Regions from separate parts of the Homo sapiens genome. Here regions 2, 3 and 4 are each linked to region 1. The links are contacts of gene promoters, found by promoter capture Hi-C in blood cells and fetal thymus (Javierre and others, 2016). All regions are on one chromosome and are shown on one strand. The core of a region is centred on a gene start or on the middle of the fragment in contact, and the rest is flanking DNA. Distances in the headings are between cores, read along the strand shown.

Region 1 (5,929 bases), core at 2,000-4,499:
AATTTGTTCTAATTTTCAAAATAAAAATCCAAATTAACAGCTTTCTTTAAAACAACTTTTTCTTTTCTTTTCTTTTCTTTTTTGAGACTGTTGCTCAGGCTGGAGTGCAGTGGCGTGATCTCAGCTCACTGCAAGCACCGCCTCCTGGGTTCACGCCATTCTCCTGCCTCAGCCTCCCGAGAAGCTGGGACTACAGGCGCCCGCCACCTCGCCTGGCTGATTTCTTATATTTTTAGTAGAGACAGGGTTTCACCGTGTTAGCCATGATGATCTCGATCTCCTGACCTTGTGATCTGCCTGCCTTGGCCTCCCAAAGTGCTGGGATTACAGGCGTGAGCCACCGCGCCCGGCCACAACTTTTTCTTTAATGGCTTAACTTCATTCAGCTTTACCTGCTAAACAATAAAGGGAAAAATCAAAGAAAGAATAGTCTTCTAGGGGTGACAGTTGGTGTTTTAGCACCTGCCTTTATACCTGGGAGGCAGAGATCACAGGTGGTTACATCTCTGTTGTTCATTTAGTGGACCAGATTTCATACATAATCCTATCTTGCTTTTGTCTTTCACTTTCTCCAAGAGATAAGCTAGCAAACCTTCTCCATTGTAAGAGAGACCAAATTGAAAATTTGGTCACAACTTTACTACCCGAGAAAAATAACGTTGCTATGCTTCCTGGAGGAGTGATAGAAAATGCAGTTTCCGAGAATTATAAAAGGTTTATTATTTGTCCAGTATTTTAAGAGAAACAAAGGGGTCTGTCTCTCAGGTATTTAGCATCTATTCTTAACCCTTTTAGATCTCAATCTAGTCCCCTTTGGAATTTATTGTTGCCTTAATTGGAGTATTTTTTTTTCTTTTAGTGGGAGAATAAATAAGAGCATTTATTTTTATTTTATATATATATATATATATATATATATTTTTACTTTGCTCTATGGTATCACAGCAGAAAAGTTCAAGTGTAACCAAAAAGCTTTTGACATGTCTAAATGAGATTTTTCTTAACAGAGGGAACATTAAGCTACATCTTCTGGGATTTAGCAAATGGAATCTGGTAGTAGAAGTTAAAATAATGACCCGAAAATCCTGTGATTTATTTCTTTAAGCATGCTTTTATATCCAATATATCATTTGATCTACAGCCTTATTAGCACAGCATGAAAAGGTAGAATTTTCCAAAAGCATACCTGTTCCCATCTGTTGTCTCAACTACCTGTCTCAATTACCGTTTCTACTGAGATTTTTGCTCATGTTTACCCTTTACTTTCAATTATGTGTGAAAATCAGAGTACTCTCTTATGTCATACAAACTTTAATATCATTTTTTTCCTTTATTCCTTCAGTGGAACCTTAAGTATTGGCATTCCTCAAGATTCAGTTCTTGATCCTCTTTCCTTTTATTATTAACCACGCAAGCCCTTCCTTGGAGAGCTTACTTACTTCCAGGGCCTCCTTCAACTGTCACTTTCACAAATGACTTTTTTTTTTTGAGACGGAGTCTCGCTCGGTTGCCAGGCTGGAGTGCAGTAGCGGGATCTCGACTCACTGCAATCTCCGCCTCCCGTGTTCAAGCGATTCTCTTGCCTCAGCCTCCCGAGTAGCTGGGATTACAGGCGCACGCCAGCACGCCCAGCTAATTTTTGTATTTTAATAGAGATGGGGTTTGACCATGTTGGCCAGAATGGTCTCTATCTCTAGACCTCGTGATCCGCCGGCCTCGGCCTCCCAAAGTGCTGGGATTACAGAAGTAAGCCACCGCGCCCGGCCACAAATGACTTCTTTTTTTTTTTTTGAGACAGAGTCTCGCTCTGTCTGCCAGGCTGGAGTGCAGTGGCGTGATCCAGTTCACTGCAAGCTCCGCCTCCCGGGTTCACGCCATTCTCCTGCCTCAGCCTCCGGAGCAGCTGGGACTACGGGCGCCCGCCACCACGCCCAGCCAATTTTCTGCATTTTTAGTAGAGACGGAGTTTCATCGTGTTAGCCAGGCTGGTCTTGAACTCCTGACCTCAGGTGATCTGCCCGCCTCTGCCTCCCAAAGTGTTGGGATTACAGGCGTGAGCCACCGCGCCCGGCCCACAGATGACTTCTAAATGAATGTCTCCAGTACTGATCTCCTCAGAACTCATTTCTTGATGATTTTTTACATTCACATTTCTAAATTTCTTGTAGGAAACCACAAATTAGTGTCTTTCAACTAAAGGACATTAAAAGAAGACTAAGGTCAGGTTTAGAGACAGACAAGTTTGTGTGTATGAGTTAATGTTTGCATATACTGCAAAGATAAACCAAATTAATTTTAGATTTTTGTTGCTTTATATTAATCAACTTTTTCTATACGTTAAACTTGGTCCTCAGTTTTTAGGGCATATGAGTATAGAAACCCAAGATAGCTTATCATCAGGCTGATAACATGTGCTTTACATTTTTCAATCTTCCAAATATTTCATAATATATTATCTTGAATATCAATAGCACACTTCTATAAGTGTTCGACAACTTATAGAAAATATGCATTTCTAAAATTCAAGTTGGCAGACCGAAAAGAATACCACACAGTTTCCTAAAGGCTTGTGACAGTAAGTTAGGCTGGACTTTCAACATAATGGAATATTTACCAAATAAAAGGCCACTGATTTTTGTATTAGACAAAGACATCTGGAAATTTCTAGATGGATTTAGGGATTCTGGTCATTCTAAGGAGAATCTAGAGGTAAGCCCCATCTGACTCATGGGCATATTCCAAGTTATCATTTCCTTTCCTACATCCTTACAAGGTTCCAGGAGAATCTGTCAATGGCTCTGAAGCCAGGCTCAGGAGGGAACTGGTATTCAGCGAATGGGACACTTTGCTTCATTCCTTCATTATAAGCTCCCCTGCAAGCTTTGTGCAGAGGGGCGGGAAAAGGGGCTATCACCCCCTTAAATGAATAGCCGAGTTGGTATGTAATATAAGATCTATTTTGCTTGTTATTCATTAATTGGGAAGCAAACATAGGTAAAATCACATAATGGTGGAGGTTACCCCGTTTGAAACAAACTAACCACAGTCACTATGACACCCCCAGCTGGTGGCTAGCCCGACCAACCTTCCCAGCTCCGCGCGCCCAGTGGGGGCCGGAAAAGCGCGGGAGGGGGCGTGGCCCCGAGAAGGCGGAGACAAGATGGCCGCCCATAGCGCTTGGAGGACCTAAGAGGCGGTGGCCGGGGCCACGCCCCGGGCAGGAGGGCCGCTCTGTGCGCGCCCGCTCTATGATGCTTGCGCGCGTCCCCCGCGCGCCGCGCTGCGGGCGGGGCGGGTCTCCGGGATTCCAAGGGCTCGGTTACGGAAGAAGCGCAGCGCCGGCTGGGGAGGGGGCTGGATGCGCGCGCACCCGGGGGGAGGCCGCTGCTGCCCGGAGCAGGAGGAGGGGGAGAGTGCGGCGGGCGGCAGCGGCGCTGGCGGCGACTCCGCCATAGAGCAGGGGGGCCAGGGCAGCGCGCTCGCCCCGTCCCCGGTGAGCGGCGTGCGCAGGGAAGGCGCTCGGGGCGGCGGCCGTGGCCGGGGGCGGTGGAAGCAGGCGGGCCGGGGCGGCGGCGTCTGTGGCCGTGGCCGGGGCCGGGGCCGTGGCCGGGGACGGGGACGGGGCCGGGGCCGGGGCCGCGGCCGTCCCCCGAGTGGCGGCAGCGGCCTTGGCGGCGACGGCGGCGGCTGCGGCGGCGGCGGCAGCGGTGGCGGCGGCGCCCCCCGGCGGGAGCCGGTCCCTTTCCCGTCGGGGAGCGCGGGGCCGGGGCCCAGGGGACCCCGGGCCACGGAGAGCGGGAAGAGGATGGATTGCCCGGCCCTCCCCCCCGGATGGAAGAAGGAGGAAGTGATCCGAAAATCTGGGCTAAGTGCTGGCAAGAGCGATGTCTACTACTTCAGGTACCTCCCTGGGGGCGGGGAGGGGGTGGCGGGGTCAGGCCGGGGTCAGGGGTCAAGAGCGGGCCTGGGCAGAGGATGAGCGCTGGGGCCCGGGGGGCATGTGGCAGGGACAGGCTGGTTTGGTGGTGGAAGGTGGCGGAACCCTTGGGTGAGAGTTGACCCCAGTGCGGTGGGAGGCAGTGTCAAAAGGTGAGGGCCCGCAGGAGGGCATCTTATGTGGAAGGCGTCGGGGAAGATGGTTTGCGAAGAAAGGGTTAGCCTGGCAGGGATGGTTAGTCCACTGAAGGGTTAAAAGGAGGTGTAATTCATCGAAACTATAAAACCCAGTCACTGTTGGCTCCTGTCCCAGCCTGTCCCAGATTCATCATCACAAGTGTTAAGCATGCACATGTGGAAGAATGAGCTATCTACAGTAACAAGGTTTCATTTACTTCATCCAAGAAAGTTTTGTATAAAGCAGCTATTTGGAATGCCTGAAGTTTTTTTGGAACTTCTTGGTATTGCAGAATATACTCTTTTGAAACTGACACACTGTACTAAGTTTTTAGACTCCTAGACCAAAATTTGCTCCCCAGGGAACATTTGTCAATGTCTGGAGACATTTTCGGTTCTCACACCTGGGGAGGGTGTGATACTGGCATCTAGTGGGTAGAGGCCAGAGATGCTGCTACATATTCGATAATACAAAGGAAAGCTGCCACAACAAAGAATGATCTGGCCCAAATTGTCACCTGTGCTGAGGTTGAGACATCCTGTTTTAAATGATTCAAGGTTTTTCACCTTAGTGTAATCTTGCAATCCCGTGGTCATGCTGCTGATGTCTTCAGTTTGTGTGACCCAGTAAGCTCAAGAAAGTGCCTATGGCAATTGACATCCGTGGACTTAATACACATTTACTAAATTTTGTAATAAGCCATGCTATTGATAGAAGATAATATAAACTTGTATTCAGTAGTTTGGAGGTACGTGTTTGTGGACTGACTGAAGCATTTTTCAGGGAATGTATATGGGTATTGGAGACAATTGTCATTTAGCTATTGTAATAATGTTATAAAGGATTTCCTGTCCTCTTCAAGTAGCTCTGGGAAAATGTGTCTGTACACATACCATGCTTATGAACTAAAAATACTTTTAACTAGATTGAAAAGGTTAAAGAAATGTACATACACATATATACATACATATGCACACACAAGAATGTGATCACTGCTGGTGCAGCATGTAAATACGAACACATTCCTGATGGTTGCTATATATGGATGAGTAGTTGTAGTAAGTTCACTTCACCTCAACTAAAAAATAAAAGTGATGTTTCATAGAACTTAGTCTTCCACTTGATCTGGACCCTCATCTTGAAACCTCATATGATAAAATGGAGAACTTCTTTTAAACATAAGAAGGTAGTAATCACCTGTGGTCCCAGTTACGGGGCTGGGGCGAGAGAATCTCTTGAGTCCAGGAGTTCGAGGCTGCAATGACCTATGATTGTGCCTGGGCAATAGAGTGAAACCCCATCTCTTTAAAGAAAAAAAAGAAAAAGTGTGATAGTCTTGGTTTGTATTTCCTCATCATTAAATATTTGATTTAATGGTAAGAAAGTTATTGTGAGCACTTTCACAGGTCCTCCCTCAGGCTGTGGGGCCAGGATTTGGTAGCTGGTGCTGAGAGAAAACCTTTGTTGGCATCCTTGCCCTGGGACTGTGCCAGTGGCAGCTGTCATTCAATGGGACAATTTCTTCTGATTAAAAAAAAAGGTTATTGTGGTTAAAAAAAGATTAGTTTTCTCAAGTTCATTAGTTTCATTTAGTGCCGTTCACAATTGTTCGTTTTCTAGTATTCTTTCATTAACAGAGCATTCTGTTTTCTTTCTAAGCAGGCTGTCTGCATAACCTTCTGTGAACTATGTGCTGATGTCTTGTAGGCAATTATATTTGACAAGATTATTCTGTATCTGTGATTGAACTCCTTGAGGAATAGATGACTAGGCTATTCTCAGTAGAACATCTTAAACTTTGAATTTTACTCTGTG
Region 2 (5,929 bases), core at 2,251-4,750, 730 kb before region 1:
GGGCTTCTGCAGCCGCAGGTGTAGTAAAAAGAGCAGCCCATTGCTTGACCTTTTCCTTAATGTTGAGTAGCATCATGATATTTTAGATGTGGAAGTTACAGAGTGCTAGGCGGCTAGACAAAGGAACACTCTTATCTTACTGAAGGTTAGTACGGGACCGTGCAAGTGTAGTTTTTAGATTGGATGATAACATAGCTGTGAATTTTCAGCCTTTTTGGAAGTGAAGACAAAATTGAATATAAGGATCAGAACAAGCAACAAGCCCTGAACATAACTGAAGGTGTACCTGCTCCCCATTATATTCTGATTGTTTTATTTTAGGAATCAAAACCTCTTTTACTTTCTTGGTGTATATAGTTCGGATGAAGTGTCAGAATACAAAAAGGAATTATTCTGTGTTTGTGATAGGGAGGAGATAATCTGTTCTTTTGATTTTACCTAATGCCATTAAATATTCAGAGCTACTGAAGTCTGGTTTTCCTGATATGTGAGCTGGGCAGGAGTGTCAGGTACCCTGGCAGACACAATTGGTGCTGTTGTTATGCTTTTCCCCCGCTGCCCACTCTCTTCCCCACCCCACTCCCAATTTGAGAGGGAAGGCCCCTGACACAGAGGAATTTCTGCCCAAGGCAGGGAGTATCCCCGTGTGGTTCCTCAAATGTTTGCAGAAAGAATGAAAACAACTACACTTCTTGGGACCCAGGCCAACGTCATAAGGCCGACGTCATAAGAAGGTTCTTTCCTCTTGTTATTTACAAAATAAATTGATCCCTTGTCCTAACTAGAAAGAGACTTTTGAAATTAATACTGTTGCTATTTTGTGAATTACTGATAGGCATGTTATTTGTTAGCTTATTTGTTTACAGTATGCTCAACATTGAAGGTGAGTTGTAATCCAAATTTTGGCCAAAGCTAAAAAATGTAAGCTAGATTTAGACAAACCTGAAAAATGAGGTGTTTATTTGCTTGGAATAATGACTGAAAGGGGAAATAACTGAAGATTTTGATGGGAATGTAAAAGTCTTTTAAAATAGTAGTTTCTCATCTTTAGAACTGAGATATTTACATCAAAATTATATGGCTATTTATTGATTGAAAACATTTCATAATGGCAAAATTTTACCATGAATTTACTAACACGTTTAAATGAATGTCATTTACTAAGCACAAAAACAGCCATTTATATAGGTTTGGAAAATGAGAGAGAGAGAGAGAGAGAGAGAGAGAGAGTGTGTGTGTGTGTGTGTACATTGTTTTAGAAACTATTTGGTACATCTGTAAATTTGTGGGCCTATTCATGTATTCATTGAAACAATATTTATTGAGGACACTGTGTTCTGTGTGGGAGAACCAGATGGGAGGGGAAGTAGGGTCTGGGCCAAACACAGCCCTGTGTAAATCAGACACATTTCTATCCTCCTGGAATTTACTACATTGGAGTCCTCCAGGCCACCCCAAGTCAAGGCCATAGATTTACAGACCACATAAATGATCCATTCAATTTCGACAGTGACTAAAACTAGATTAGTTTCAAATCACATATTTCCTTTCACTGATTTAAAAAGTCAAGTCTAAAAATGATAGAGGAGCTTGCATGTTATTCTGCTCAGTGGTTTTCTCTTTTGTTTAGGTTGGGGAAGAACTTAGGAATCATGTGTTCCAGGCTTAATGTTATGAAATATTAACTTAAAATAGCTAAGTATCAATTTCATGCAAATTAAATAAAAACTAAACTTGTAGTATGGATGACAATAATCTAGAGACAAAAATTAATGAACAAAAAATTTAAAACTGAAAAACATCTATCCATTAAATTATATTTTTTCCTATAAATTAGAAAAATAAGACTACAGTTACATTCACCCCACCCCCAGAGGAAAACAGCATCTTTATTCAAGTTATTCTTACTTTTCCTTCTGTATTTTTTTTTAAAAAAGCTTTATTGGAGGTATAATTTACATACCATAAAATACATCCAAGTGTATAATTCAATGATTTTTGGTAAATTTACTGAATGGTGCAACCATTAGCACAATCCAATTTTAGATCACTTCATCATTCCCCAAATATCCCTGGGGCCTGTTTGCAATCACTCACCGTTCTTACCCCAGCCCCAGCAACCCCTAATCTATTTTGTCTGTTTAGATCTGCCTTTTCTGGACATTTCATACAGATGGAATCGTACAATATATAGTCTTTAGCATCTGGCTTTTTTCAGTTAGAATAGCTGTTGAGGTTTATTCAGGTTGTCACATGTAGCTGTAGTTGGTTCCTTTTTATTGCTTAACTAGGATTTATTCCATGCCATGGCTATGCCGCATTTTGTTCACCATTTGGTAGACCTTTCTGCAAATACTTTTGCATGGTAAAACAGATACATTGGTGCAGCTTCTATGGTAGCATAATGTGAGAATAACTGATATGAGCCAACCTCTTATTTGGTGCTTTGACTCTCTTCTATGATAATTTTAAATATGAATGCCAAGAGTTAAACATCCAGGTTCCTATTAAGCAGTGGTGTTTTCTGTGTGTAACTCTCCAACAAACCAATGTTAAGAACTTCTTACCTTGGCTGGGCACAGTGGCTCACACCTATAATCCCAGCATTTTGGGAGGCTGAGCTGGGCAGATCACGAGGTCAGGAATTCGAGACCAGCCTGACCAACATGGTGAAACCCCATCTCTACTAAAAATACAAAAATCACCTGGGCGTGGTGGCATGCGCCTGTAATTCCAGCTACTCGGGAGGCTGAGGCAGGAGAATCGCTTGAACCAGGGAGGCAGAGGTTGCAGTGAGCCAAGATTGCACCATTGCACTCCAGCCTGGGCAACAGAGCAAGACTCGTCTGAACTTCTAATTTTCCCCAGCAATTTGGGAGGCTGAGGCAGGTGGATCACCTGAGGTCAGGAGTTGGAGACCAGCCTGGCCAACATGGTAAAACCCCTTCTCTACTAAAAATGATTTTTTAAAAATTAGCTGTGTGTGGTGGCATGCGCCTGTAATCCCAGCTCCTGGGGAGGCTGAGGTAGGAGAATTGCTTGAACCTGGGAGGTGGAGGTTGCAGTGAGCTGAGATGTCACCACTGCACTCCAGCCTGGGCAACAGAGCGAGACTCTGCCTCAAACAAACAAACAAACAAACAAACAAAAAAGAACTTCTTAACTTTGCAAGAACATTGACTTTTGGTATACCTCTGTTAGGAATCAGGAAACTGGAATAGCAGTTCCCAGCCAGAATTGTTTTCTTATATATCTCCACTGACCTTGCTTTGTGCTAACTATTATGGCAAATGCATTTTGAGTGGTGGGGGCGGGTCATGCTTCACAACTTATGCTTAAATATCCTCTTAGGAAGATTTCTCTAGTAGAACAGAAATCCTTTTATAAAAATCTAGCCAGTTCTGTGAGCCTAAAAAGAAGACAGTGTCTCTCTGAGTGCCCTTAAGTTACTACTCAAATTGCAAATTCCTTTTGGGGGAAAAAAAAGAGCATCAAAATAACTTGAGGTCTGTTTGTGTGTGTGTGTGTTTTTCAAGACGGGGTTGTATTCTGTCACTGACGCTGGAGTGCAGTGTCAGGATCCTAGCTCACTGAAGCCTCAAACTCCTGGGCTCAAGTGATCCTCCTGCCTCACTCAGCCTCCTGTATGGCTGGGACTACAGGAATGTGGCACCATGCCTAGCTAATTAAATTTTTTTTTTCATAGATGGGGCATCACTGTGTTACCCAGACTGGCCTCCAATTCCCAGCCTTAAGCAATCCTTCCACCTTGGCCTCCCAAAGTGCTGGGATTATAGATGTGAACCACTGTGGCCAACTTTTGAAGTCTATTTTATTGGCAATTTAGAATGCAAACTATTTTTTTTAACATCTACAATTTGAAAAGAAGATAATGTAGGTTAAATAATATAGTTTTCCAAAGCTGAATGTCTTCATTTGCAACTCATTTTTTTCTGCTTGAAATGTCAAACAACTTCCTAAAACTCCTAGATGAGAATACTACTACTGTTTTGATGATCTGTTTGTGATTGGATGGAGTAATCAATCTTGTTTGGTAATACACCTTTGTTTCCTTGGTAAGGATTTTTAAAATTCTAAAACAAATGCATTTTTTTTCTAGCCTTATACTCACGATTTTATAGCAAGTATCTCCTAAGAGGTATTTACCATCTACAGGAATCCACCTTCATCATTCTCACTTTCATATACTCCAGGGATCAGGATCAGGGCAGAGACATTCACCAAGCTATGTTGGTTTATCAAGAGAAAGAAGGCTTGATTAGTATTGAGCTGTAAGCACCTGCTATTTATTTTGATTAGGTCACTTACATTGTTGTGATCTGATACAAGGAACTTAGTTTTACCCAAAGTGGGAAGCTGCCTCTGACTCTTCTATCTTTCTATAAACACCTGGATTTTGGTAGGATGCTGCTCTTGGATAAGTCAAACGTCTTCATGGTGTGGGAGGGTGGGCGATGGTGTTGATAAAAAGTAGGGTCATGGCCCGGCATGGTGGCTCACACCTGTAATCCCAGCACTTTGGGAAGCTGAGGCGGGTGGATCGCCTGAGGTCAGGAGTTTGAGACCAGCCATAGGCAACATGGTAAAACCCCATCTCTACTAAAAATACAAAAATTAGCCGAGTGTGGTGACACATGCCTGTAGTCCCAGCTACTCGGGAGGCTGAGGCAGGAGAATTGCTTGAACCTGGGATGTGGAGGTTGCGGTGAGCTGAGATTGAGCCACTGCACTCCACCCTGGGTGACAGAGTGAGACTATGTCTGAAACAAAAAAAAAAAAAGAAAGAAAGAAAGAAAGGAAGGAGGGAAGGGAAGGGAAGGCGAGGGGAGGGGAGGGGAAGGGAGGGGAGGGGAGGGGAGGGGAGGGTCCTGGCTGTTTCAGGCCCTGAATAAGTAGATATTTTCATCATCGATCCAACAGTGTATGTGCAGATGGACAAATATGAAGAATGAAAACATATTGTGCATCTAGAAAGCTATTAGAAAAGGAATGGGTAGATGAGAAAAGAAGTTCTAGGTTCACAAATTAGATTTAAAGCTTGTTGGAAATATTCTTATATTTCTTATGTATTATTGTATATTTCCTTCTACTTTATCACCTTTAATAAACAGTGCTTATGATTAAGTTTTTAAAAATGTTTAAAAGGCTTTCCTTGTTTCTGTCATACTGAATGCTAAGTTTAATTGACTAGTCATGTAGCGTGAGCTAGAATCAGCAGCCCAGTTGCCTGTTGTTTTTAACAACCCTGATTCCATTGCTCTCTATCTATGTATCTCTCTCTCTCTATATATATATATGTGTGTGTGTGTGTGTGTGTGTGTGTGTATGTATATATATAATCATTTACACTCTTTTGGGGGTCAAGAATTTGAATGAAGAAAAACAAATCCAATTAATTTTGGCTTCCAGTTACTTCTGATAAAATCAGTGAAGGTTCTTGGATTTTGAAATCTCAGTTGTGCATTGCTTTTTTTAGATCCTGCCAGGTTACTATTTTTTAAATAACATGTACAAATTCATCTTTTTCAGTATAGACTATTGTAAGTTTTTGGAAATTGTTATAGTCATAGAACCATGATCACTAACAAGATATATTCCCCCACTCCAAAGTCCTATGTGTTCCTTTTGTAGTTAACCTGTCCCCCACTGCCAGTCCCAAGTAACCACTATCCCTTTTGATTCCTACAGTTTTTACTTTTCTAGAATGTCAAATGGAACCATAGAATATGTAGCTCCTTGAATTTGGCTGTTTCAGTTAGCATGATGCATTTGACACTTATCTATGTTGTTGGGTGTATCCGTAATACATTCCTTTTTTTTTTTTGAAACAGAGTCTCACTCTGTCACCCAGGCTGGAGTGCAGTGGCACAATTTCAGCTCATTGCAACCTCTGCCTCCCAGGTTCAAG
Region 3 (5,929 bases), core at 1,326-3,825, 710 kb before region 1:
ATATCTCACTGTTTTATTTTTGAGGCTTCTTTTGTTATTGAAAATATCTTACAAAAGTTCAACAGTTATACAATTTCAGTCATGCAAGATGAATAAGTTCTAGAAATCTACTGCATAACATTGTGTCTATAGTTAACAATACTGTACTGTACACTTAGTACATCTCATGTTAATTGTTCTTACCACAATCCACAATACCTTTTTAAAAGTGTGTTCATATTTAATAAATATTAATTATAGCCTTCATAGTCAAATGTCACAATATTTTTACATTTGTCTATTGCTGAATGCTTTTGATTTTTCTCTTTAGGGGTTTATTTTATATGCAGTCCTGCAATGAATATCTTGGTAGGGAAGTCTTTATAGTCATCCTTGATTGTTTCCTTAGGTTAAATCCTGGAAAGATTCATAACATTTTAGCATTATTGTCCTCAATACTTTAACCTTGTCCCACTTCTATTTCAGGAAGATACACTTTTTAATAGTGTTATGGACATTAATGATAAAAGGCTTGCAAATAAGTGTATAAGCTGACAGAGCACCATGGAGTTATGTGAACAGTGAGGACTATCACTGCAGGACGTTACTATGCACAGAGCTCTGGTTTGGTTTGACTATGGCAAATCTGCCTGTTCAACAGCCCCTCTAAATAGGGAGTTTCTCATTTTACATTTTCCTCTTACCAAATAACAGTGTCTTCTCTCGTATCCATTGTCTATGAGGCTGTAAATGGTATAGTTATACCTTTGGTGTTCTTAATTGCCCATCAAACTGTTCTGCCTTTAACACTTTTTGTTGTAAATGTCAGAACATGCATAGTGACCTTTTTTCTAGCTGCAAGCCTCCAGAGAAGCAGGAGCAGCAGCTCTGAGAAACGTGGCCCAGAGATTATTTGAAAACTACCAAACGCAATCTGAAGAAGTGAGAAAGAAGCAGGAGGACAGTAAACAATTACTCCAGGTACCAAACATGCAGCTTGTCTATTGGAGAACTAGCCCCCACCCTGAGCTGTTGAAGTTCATCTTTCTAGAAGAGTTAGAAATGAAACAAGCAATGGCCAAGTGACTTGGCAAAAGACTTGGGAAAGAAGCGGTGTGCTTGTCTCTTTTGCCAATTTCTCTCACCCCTGCTTAGCCGGACACCCCAGATGTTGCTGAGCTGCTGTGTTGCAGTTCTTGCCCAGAGCCCCCATGAGCACAGGTGGGAGGGAGGCAGTGCCACCCTGCCTGGAAATCTGGACTGGCTCTGCGGAGCTGGGCTGGTAACTTCTCTTCGGGCTCTGCCGTTGACTCGCTAGATGGCCCAGACTGAGCCATTCTTCCTCTCTGGATTTGGGTGTCCTTGTCTCTAGAATGAAAGAGTTGGGCTAGACACATGCTTTCAAAATTGTTTTGGTCTTAGGATAGATACTTCGGATTTAAAAAAACAGAAAACAAAATATGTATCTATATATTTTTAAATAATATATAAAGTTATATATTTTATATATTTATATTTTTATATATTATTTAAAAATATATAACTATATATTTTTAAATATATATAACTATATATTTTTTAAAAATATATAGATATATATTTATCTATATAAATAATTATATATATTTATCTATATAATTATAATATCTAATATAATAAATAAATATATAATATCTATATAAATAAATATATTTATCTATATAAATAATATAGTTATATATTTTTTAAAATATAAATTTAGATGCTTTTATATTTTAATATGTAAATATGTATAAATTTTAAAAATAAAAATCATGTACAGACACTCAAACATATTCTTTTTTGTTCATTTGTTTTTAAATCTGAAGTATATATACTAGGACCAATAAAATCTGTCTGAAAAATATATTCTAGAACTGGAGGAGTCAAAAAAGTGTGTGTATGCCTGTGTGTGTGTGTTTGCCAAAATTAAAACTATAAAACAGCTAATAGGAAAGTTCATTCATCATAGTTTGGGGCACCCAGGTGTCTGTCAGCTCAGGCTCTAAGAAGGTCCTCAGGGGAGTACAGTAGGAAATTCACTGCCTAGGTGACACCCTTTCATGCATCAGGCTGTGGTAGTGATGGTTGCAAACTCACATGCATGCTGGGTGCAGATGAAGAACATAAGCGGGAAGCGGATGAGGGTGCTATGCTATGGGGGCGCTTGTGGGGACGGGAAGTGTGCATCCCTGTAATGTGGGCTCGGCACCAGCCTGGAGTGACCTGACTGGAAGGCCCACTTGGTATTTACAAGGGAAGCCAGACACTTATTTTTCCCTGTGAAATGTCAAGCTTTGTTAAATACACACACAGAAGAGTAACAAGTTAGTCGACACAGTCCCACTGTAGCTTACTGCCTGCTAGATGGAGTCTTCTCTCCTATGATGGTTCAGAACAACCCCTGCTCTATGCCTATGAAGTAGCACCATGACACACTGAGGAGTTATTCTGCTTTTATGACACTTTCTAATTAAACATAAAACGTGTTTTAATTGAACATGTAAGGTTTTTTTTGTTCTGGATAATAATTGTTGAGAAAAAGTCAAAAATGTTGCTTTCGTTAAATTAGCATCTTTCTCTCTTATACCTGTTCAGGAAGTATGCTTTATGGTAACAAATGGAAACATTCTAGGAAGAATATTTATACATTATTAATTCTCTATTTAATGTTGTTGTAGTCTATCAGGGTTATTTTGAAGTAAACACTGAAATCAAAAGAGTAATTCTAAACAAGTATGAATTCTGAATTTTTTTGGCTAATTAGAAAATTATAGAAAGAGGTAATATGTGTATAGGTTTAAGAAAAACAGAGTTTTCACAACACAACTGATTCTCTGACCATAGGTTAACAAGCTTGAAAAAGAACAGAAATTGAAACAACATGTTGAAAATCTGAATCAAGTTGCTGAAAAACTTGAAGAAAAACACAGTCAAATTACAGAATTGGAGAACCTTGTACAGAGAATGGAAAAGGTACGCCCCTGGAGAATTAGAGGATTTTCTTACTGACAGCATTAGGATGAGAATGAAATAAAATAATACTAAAATAAATAGGATATTAAATTAAATAAGATAATATTATGTGAAAGTATTCTTTACAATTCTTGGCCTTAGGAAGTATTTAATATTAATTTTTCCCATAAACATTTCATATGATCTATACTGTGGTGATTGATTTACCTTTCTGCAAATACTGTAGTCATATCATCATTTGTCACTTTCTCTTTCTAGGAAATATGTGACTTAGAAAGGGGAACCAGGTGAGGCTGTGAATGCAAATAATGGAAAAGATCACAAAGTCCATCTATTAGGAGTAATAATGTAGCAGTTCCCTGTAATCACAGCATTTTTATGTATTAGAGTCAGTGCAGTATCCATTTTTGGCCACCCAAGTCTACTTTGTGTTTGGAAAAACCTACGGCTGCACTAGGAGAGATACAGTTCACATTAAGAAAATCTATTCTATAGAAATTGGAACTTTAAGAAGGCATATTTAGAGAAGAGCAATAATAGAAGAAAAATTTTAAAATGTTTCATGCCATGTTCATTTAAGTAGCTGGCACTCAAAATATACACAAAAGGTGAACACATAAATTTGTGTATGTATGCCATAGAATTTAGAATTTGGACAAATCAAGGAATATTTTTTATTAGCAAAACAAAGAGAAAACTGGCATCTCTGAAACTGAATTGGGGATAGAGAAAAATATAGGCTTTGGATACTAGTAAATATTGCCCAATACATTTTTTATATTTATTGTATTTGCCTGTATTCTTTTTAGCTTTAATTTGTTTTATGAGTCTGCCTGGGTTTATGCCATTTTATAAATGTCATTTCAAAAACATCACATTTCAATATTCAGGTTTCTTACCAAAGGAAACTTGATTTGTTTAAAAATGTTTCCCAAGAATTTAAAGTTTTATGACATTGTGATTTGGTTGAATTTGTAGTCTTGGTGAAGCTCCTATGAGGAAATCACAAAAATTAAATATGCCCATTATCAAGTGGCTCTAAGATAATATTCAGCTGCATGTGTATTATGTGGAAGGTCACTGAGTGTTATACTTTAGCAGAATCACTGGGTTAGAGTCTCCTTAAGCAATTAGTTTATCCAGGCATGACAATTTATAATTATGCTGTGTTGGAAAAACTGTAATATTTGGTTGTATACTTGGTAGTGGTAGAATACTTGATCCTATAATAAATAGCTTAACAAAACTAAGATAGCACAAAGAATGTTTGCATTAAGGAAAGAAAGACAATTCTGGGAAACGAATAAATTGCTTAACCAAACAACTTGATTAACCAGCTTAAAATTTAAGTTTAGTCTAGAGCTCACGCCATCTCAAACCCAGTGATATTGGTCAGGTTTAGTGGCAACCGTCACTGCCCCCAAATTAACAAAAGAACAGGCTGGGCATGGTGGTTCATGCCTATAATCCCAGCACTTTGGGAGGCCGAGGTGGGCAGATCATGAAGTCAAAGAGATCGAGACCATCCTGGCCAACATGGTGAAACCCCGTCTCTACTAAAAATACAAAAATTAGCTGGGCATGGTGGCACGCACCTTTAGTCCCAGCTACTTGGGAGGCTGAGGCAGGAGAATTGCTTGAACCCAGGAGGCGGAGGTTGCAGTGAACCGAGATTGCACCACAGCACTCCAGCCTGGTGACATAGCGAGACTCCGTGTCAAAAAAAAGAAAGAACAGTGGAAGATAATTTCTATTTCCTAGTAATCCCAAGAAATGTGTACTAGATGTTAGTTCATCTCAGAGTTCTGGGGTATATTTACTTGACTGTTTACTAAACAAATATTTGAACACCACCATGTGTAGCATAGAACTAGGGGCTGAATATATATTTGTGAATGAACCAGACAGTCTCTTTTTGTGGAGATGACAATGTAGTATATCTGGATTGTGTGAGGCTCAAGGAACTTCCCAGATCTCCCTTTCTTAATTCCTCTATGAGTCCTTTAGGGAGGCTGAAAGCCCAGTCAAAGGCAGAGGAGCATGCCCCAGAATAAGGTTCAGTGGCTCAGATCCTGGCAGGACATTCTTGGGAAGTGATGGCCTATCTCCTGCCCTGATAATAACTCGCAACAGTGGGCTGTCTCCAGGAGATCTTGGACAAAGGAAGCAGACAGGATGCACATGGCTTAGTAAGGCCATGCAGCAACCTTCCAGAATAGTTCAGTGACTTTCTGGAGGGCAAGCCTACTGGAATCTCTGGAGGGTGGAGGTAAGTGTGGATGATGTGGAGGGGAAATGTGCAGTTTTATTTAAAATAAAAAATGATTTAGGCCAGGTGTGGTGGCTCACGCCTGTAATTCCAGCATTTTGGGAGGCTGAGGCAGGAGGATCGCTTGAGGCCAGGAGTTCAAGACGAGCCTGGCCAATATGGTGAAACCCTGTCTCTCCTAAAAAAAAAAATTCAAAAATTAGCTGGGCATGGTAGCATGTGCTTGTAGTCCCAGCTACTCTGGAGGCTGAGGCATGAGAATCACTTGAACCTGGGAGGTGGAGGCTGCAGTGAGCCGAGATGACGCCACTGCACTTCAGCCTGGGTGATACAGCAGGACTCTGTCTCAAAAAAAAAAAAAACCAAATTGGTTTAAAAATATTTTATATTTGTGAAACAAGCAAATAAATAAAACTATAAGGAATGAAGTTTGGCAACTTCTTGGTTTAAAGAGAGACTGAGAAGACAGGCTGTGAGGAAGGGTGTCTCAGGTGGGGAGCGCAAGCCAGAGTAAGGGGAGGGTGTACTGGGCCTTTTGTATTAATAGGAAAAAGACACAAGTTCAAAAAGAAAGTAAAACTTAAAAACAAACATCCTCACAAAGGTTGATAAATATTGGCCTGGTCGTAGGTGCCCCCTGGAGAAAAATTTACTTGCTACTCACTTGAACAATCCACCGCTCCAGTA
Region 4 (5,929 bases), core at 2,114-4,613, 610 kb before region 1:
GGCTAAATTTGGCTTAGAAAATAATGTCACCATTCTCGATGGAAAAATGCTCAGGCTAGTTGATCAGTTACTAATACTTTAGTCTGCAGAATTACCACAGCATCTGCCAATTCACCAGCTCAATCTACTTACATATACAGTAGTTTCTCAGTGTTCATCGGGGATTGGTTCGAGGACCCTCGGTGGATACTAAAATCCACATGTGCTCAAATCCTTGTATAGTATTGGCATATAATGTTCTGCTATATATTTTAAACCATCTGCAGATAACTTATACCTAATGCAATGTAAATGCTATGTAACTAGTTGTTATACTATATTGTTTAGGGAATAATGAGAAGCAAAAAGTCTGTACATATTTAGGACAGATGCAATCATTTATTTTTTTCCCCAAATACTTCTTATCTGCAGTTGGCTAAATCTATGGATAATGAACCCATGGATGGGGAGGACTACCTGTATTTTTCCCGCCCCTCTCACCAAACCCCCCACCGCCCCGCCACCCAAAGACAGAGTCTTTCTCTGTTACCCAGAGCTGGAGTGCAATGATGTGATCTCAGCTCACTGCAACTTCTGCCTCCCGGGTTCAAGCAATTCTCCTGCCTCAGCCTGCTGAATAGCTGGGATTACAGCGTGCACCACCATGCCCGGCTAATTTTTGTATTTTTGGTAGAGACGGGGTTTCACCATGTTGGCCAGGCTGGTCTCGAACTCCTGACCTCATGATCCGCCTGCCTCAGCCTCCCAAAGTGCTGGGATTACAGGCTTGAGCCACCCACCGTGCCCAGCTGGCTATCTGTACTTTTAGATGTTAAATAGGTGGGAAACTGAGAACTTATTGTCAAAGATACCCAGTCAAGTGTTGTTGACAGTATTGGTGAATGAGCCTCAAATTCTATGAAATTCCCTTCCTGAGGATGGACTTAGAAACTCTACAGGAGGAAGACAAAAGGCCCTTTCTACAAGAGAGGATAGTGACCATATTTTCAGAACTATGGATCAAAACATTTATTTAACTTGTTAAATATTTATTTATTTAACCCTGAATCTGCCAGTGTAATGGAATATTTAAAGCAGTAGCTGCTCCAGAAATTCCAGGTCATAGCACTGCCATCCACTTGGGTCACATTAGATTTTACTGATAAAGTTATTTTTGCCCCAAATTCTTCTTGTACAACTCTATTTTTAAGTCTGGAGCCTCTAATATTAGGCATGACTTTGGATTTTTGTTACATGTAAACAAGCAAATATATTTACTGGGAACAGTAATTTATAGCTGTTTTTAGTCATAACTACTTTAGCAGAAATTAATTTATCAGAAAGACTGGCCAACAAATCATTGATTTCCTAGCTTGGGGGCTGCAAAATGGCACTAAGCATTGTAGAAAAACATCAAAAGAAAGAAAGATGGGCTCTGAAATAAAGTTCTAAGAAAGATTAATTTTACCCATGATTTGTACTACAAGGAAAGAACTTTACCCTCAATTAATATGAAAGATACTCAAGAAGACAATCTTACCTTCATGATAAAATAGACAAGTCATAACATTATTTGCCCAGACAGAATTTTAGGAGCCATAGAGAATGTTTGGCCTTATAAAAAGCTTCATTATTTCCAATTAAGTAGGAGAATCTGAGGATATATTATTTCTTCACAAAGTCTGCAAAAAAGCATCTTTTGTTTCTTCCTTAATAAGGTGTCATGACAAAGCAACTATTATTTATAATGTTATTGACTTATGTATAGACATTATGCTATAGTGTAAATGTACTTCTGGAAACATCACTGGAATAAATTTCATAAAAATATTCACTCCTGTAATTCTAGTATAAATTCATTTCTGATCCATGTGTACAGGGTAATTTTAAAGTCAGAGTAATGAAGTGATATTTGCTGCTAAAAAAGCAAACAGATACTCACCATTCAGTCTGCTTCTTAGACTTTTCTTAATTAGTGTTGGATTTTAGGTATACTCTCAGCATCTGGGGGTGCTAGATAGTACATCAGGACAAAGAAATAGGACCTTAGTAGATAAGAAACCTTTTCTTTTCTGCCCTTGTATTTATTTGTCCTTGGGACCCTGTGGTTTGGAGAAGACCTAACTGTTGCCTGCATTACCTAGTTCAGTTGTGCCTTGAAACCATTCCTTGGCCTGATTTTGGTAATTGGGTTACCTAAAACTGGAATCAGATTATGGCTACAATGGGAGAATGTTTGTTACTTTAACTCTCTTTCATCTTTTCCATGCTGTGTTTATTTATGGCACAAAGGTCTTGTAATCTTAGCAAGTTATATGTAAAAACTTATTCCAAAGAGAAAGCAGTAGTAGGAAAAAACAGAATTTGCAAAACTGTTCCCATTAAAGTCAAAATTACTAAAACTTTTGATTTTCTTACACAATAGCCTAGACTTGAACCCTGTTATATTCAATGAATGTATGCTTTTGCTGATAATAATTTGAAGCTGAAAACGGGGTTGCTTATTGTCAGTCTTTAGTCAAGGGTTTAACATCAATGCATATTTTCACCCTTGATAACCATGTCAAATAGTCATTATTTAAAATGATTCACAAGTGTTCATCATAAGTTGTAGGAGGACTTCTTTTCCAGCAATATTTGTATCCTTTTTCCATATTTATTATTACTGTCTCATATAAGTCCATATACTCTTTATAAAACAAGAGATTTGTCCCTATAATGTTAGCTTACTTACTAACAAAACACAAGAAAAAACACATTGATATTTCCCAAAATAATGTGAAAGGTTGATCAATTTACAGATGGAGATAACATAGAAGATCAGCAGTTGGATACTAGTTTAGTGAATAATATAAGTAGCCAAATGCTTAAGAAAAAAAATTAAAGACCACAAGATTGTATCAGAAATCTTGCCTGGAATATTTGTAGGTATGTGTCTAACTCGTAAGAGTCATTTAAATGTTCTCCATCTATGATCTCCACAACAGAAATAACTCAGATATTGCCATATTATAGGGAGCTTTTATGAAAAACATATTTGTTCAGAACTAGATGTCTCAAATGATGGATCCATAACAAAGAAAGTGTTATACACCTGAAATCCAGAAAGAACACAGAGAATATCTCAATCGAACAAGTAGGCATACAATATGTTCTCGTACTAATTATTAAATAGTCAGAAATACTTGTGATGGAGAGTGTGAAGCACCCAGATGGTGGTATAAAGAATTTTTATAAATGTAATAGAATATTCCCCAAACTTTTTCAAACAGTGGACTAGAAAAAAAATATTAACATGGAGATGAAGAAGGGGAAGAGAAGAGGCAGAAGAAGAGACAAGGTAACTTTCCCTAAATTTGGTCAATCATTTGACATGTTTTTCAAGTCAATTTCTTGACAATATTTTGCATATTATTGGAATCTACACAAATACTCATTACTAGACAATTATTCTGTAATTTTTTTAGAACATCAAGATACATTTTGTTATGCTTTGGTAAGTAGATCTTGAGGATAAAAGTGTTATCAATTTAGTGACAGCAGAGCTAGAACAAAGCTACTAATTAAAATGAAGAGAATGGGAGTTAATTTGCACTTAAATTAACATTGGCTGTACATCAATTATTAGAGCATGATATTAATGAGCCAGAATCACTTGATTCAATCACTTTCTGTTGGGTTCCCAATCTCTAGTACTAGAACATATTCCTGATTGAGACACGACTTGTCATTTTTCACAGGGTGGGTTGGGAGAGAACATAGGTGAAAAGAATTATGCATGAAGGAAACATTACTTAGTGATTGCCCCCACAGAAGCTACAGGCATATTTATTATGTCCTTCAATTGAACAACAATGATTTTAATAATAAATACATATATATACACACATATATATAATTAGATATATAACCTTAAATTTTCCCCAAGTCCTTCCAGAACTTAAATGTCTTTATTAGCCAAAGCAGAGTAGTGCTTGCAGAAAATAAAGAAAATAATTATTCCTCTCTTATGGTTACTCCACCTCCTTCTTTCCAGGACCTCCTTGACAGATGGCATTTGGTCTCATAGATTTTGGAGATCACCCGTGTGCCTGCATTTCCCAGTCATTATCACCAGCCTGACCTCTCCTGAGAGGTCTAGATTTCAAGAGTCATTTTCTTGAACGTATGCAATTGAATAACCACAGGTACCTCAAATGCAGTTCTTCTTCCTCCCCCAACCTGCCTTTCCTTTTGTATGCCTGATTTTCAATTTTGAGGACCACTATTTATCCATCTATTGCCTTAGTACAGCCAGAAATTTAGACTTTATAATAATTTCTCCTTTCCCCCAATGTCTGGTTAATGCCCACCCTCGCTAATTATTCCTTTAATATTAATATAACTTATCTTCTCCAACTTTACAATTTCAGACCTTTTGTATTTGCCACTCCTCACTGATCTCTCTACAGTTTTAACCTCCTTAAATTTATCTTCCTCTTTATTACCATAATACTGCCTTCAAACCACTAACTGAAAACTTATCAAGTTACATTAAAATTATCTGCTCATGTAACTCTCTATTTTACTAGATTCTAAGTTCTTTAAGAGTAGGAACTATATCTTACTGACAATTACAACTAAAGTACCTAATATGACCTGACAGATAGTAGGCACTTAATGAATGTTTTAAGCAAAAAATCAGATAGACAAAAATTATACCAGAGATTAAATTGGTATTGTCAGGTTTAACATGGTGACCAGGTCTTTTGTTGTAATAACATCATCAGCTTTAACCAACTTAACATTTTTCCTAATGTTTATAATGTCCTACAACAGGCAGAAATTTTGCTCCTTGAAGCATGTCATTAATTCTTGGATTTCTTATTTTCATCTTTTGGATCAAGTGACTATGCACAATGCATGTTTACTGTGGAAAACACCAATTAGAAAGCAGTTTTATGTTTAAATCCTCCGATTTTAATGTCTACACACTTTTAGAAAACATGATTCCTGAAAAATAAGTCAAAAATATTCTACTGGTTATAAAATATTGCAATGCAAACAGAACATCTTTCTTTAAACATATAGTTAATATTTATGAATTTTAATTGTTCCTTTTCTATTTTGAGTTAGTTCTCTGTTCTCAAGTTGCCAAGCTTATACCTTCATGTGTCTCAATATTTACGATATTGATTTTAAGAATCAACCTCACTGCTCTGGACTACTTAGACCTTGAAGGCTTTGTTTTACTAAAATCACTAGAATCTAACACCATCTAGAACTGAAGAATGGGAAACTGGTTTCTGGGTCCCTGGCCTCATGCATAAGTCTACCTTAAAAGTCAAAGTGAACTTTGAAAGGGTGAAAACTGTAAGGAATCAGAACCATGGAAAATACACTTGATAAGAAGATCTGCTGGGAAGCAGAATAACAATATAATTTGAGGGAAATTCATCTTCAAAGCAACTCAGTTATTATCATTTAATCACTTTCCAAAGAAAACCGCAATGTAGAATTTTATGACTTCCTCAGAGCTTGCACAGGAAACAGATGCCCAGCAAGGTTTCTCCAAGTCTACAAAGGACACAAAGCCTGCAGGTTGGTGTACCTGCACCTAGTGATCAGTATGTTCTGTCTTTATCCATTTTTCATCTCCTCCTCACCTTTATCTAAATATAAGCTGCTCTGTAATCACAGATGCATAAATTCTCATCAAGTACGTACATTCCTGAGGGCACCCAAATTAAGCGTGTTCAGAAACAATACTAATGAGTACTTGCTGGGTGCATTTTACTTTTGTCTTCTTGGTTTTCCTAGTAGGTAAGTGAAAAAATAAAATACAGCAAAGGAGATCTGGGGAGATTGTATAGGCCAATTTCAAAATAAGTAGCATCTGATGATGGCCTAGTGACTTTACACGAGAAAAGCAAACCCAAAGTTGCTCATTTCATCTTATTACTATTACTGC

Evidence for each region. The method cuts DNA at HindIII sites, captures the fragments that hold promoters and counts their contacts. A CHiCAGO score of 5 or more calls a contact.
Region 2: a contact is called between a fragment that was not itself captured here and the fragment with the promoter of MBD2 in region 1, in 2 of 17 cell types (M1 macrophages and M2 macrophages). The highest score is 10.7, in M1 macrophages.
Region 3: a fragment that was not itself captured here is called in contact with the fragment with the promoter of MBD2 in region 1 in 1 of 17 cell types (total CD4 T cells); the score reaches 6.0 in total CD4 T cells.
Region 4: a contact is called between a fragment that was not itself captured here and the fragment with the promoter of MBD2 in region 1, in 1 of 17 cell types (activated CD4 T cells). The highest score is 5.7, in activated CD4 T cells.

Annotation. Positions count from the first base shown.
Region 1 is chr18:54,221,989-54,227,917 of GRCh38, reverse strand. It overlaps MBD2 (methyl-CpG binding domain protein 2), which reads left to right and starts at 3,249. Exons shown (of 7, transcript NM_003927.5): 1 at 3,249-3,900. The coding sequence starts at 3,359. It overlaps SNORA37 (small nucleolar RNA, H/ACA box 37), which reads left to right and starts at 5,506; the gene lies at 5,506-5,634. RefSeq lists enhancers at 1,325-1,865, 1,866-2,408 and a silencer at 3,159-3,548. The HindIII fragment of the contact is 9,949 bases long and covers 2,883-5,929 here.
Region 2 is chr18:54,952,929-54,958,857 of GRCh38, reverse strand. The region is part of intron 1 of CCDC68 (coiled-coil domain containing 68); the gene reads left to right. It also overlaps the pseudogene MAP1LC3P. Among named protein-coding and RNA genes, the nearest start is that of CCDC68, 3.6 kb to the left of the region's middle. The HindIII fragment of the contact is 3,121 bases long and covers 1,940-5,060 here.
Region 3 is chr18:54,931,864-54,937,792 of GRCh38, reverse strand. It overlaps CCDC68 (coiled-coil domain containing 68), which reads left to right. Exons shown (of 12, transcript NM_025214.3): 6 at 835-960; 7 at 2,845-2,973. Among named protein-coding and RNA genes, the nearest start is that of CCDC68, 25 kb to the left of the region's middle. The HindIII fragment of the contact is 561 bases long and covers 2,295-2,855 here.
Region 4 is chr18:54,835,724-54,841,652 of GRCh38, reverse strand. All of the region lies in intron 1 of RAB27B (RAB27B, member RAS oncogene family), which reads right to left. Among named protein-coding and RNA genes, the nearest start is that of RAB27B, 10 kb to the right of the region's middle. The HindIII fragment of the contact is 3,513 bases long and covers 1,607-5,119 here.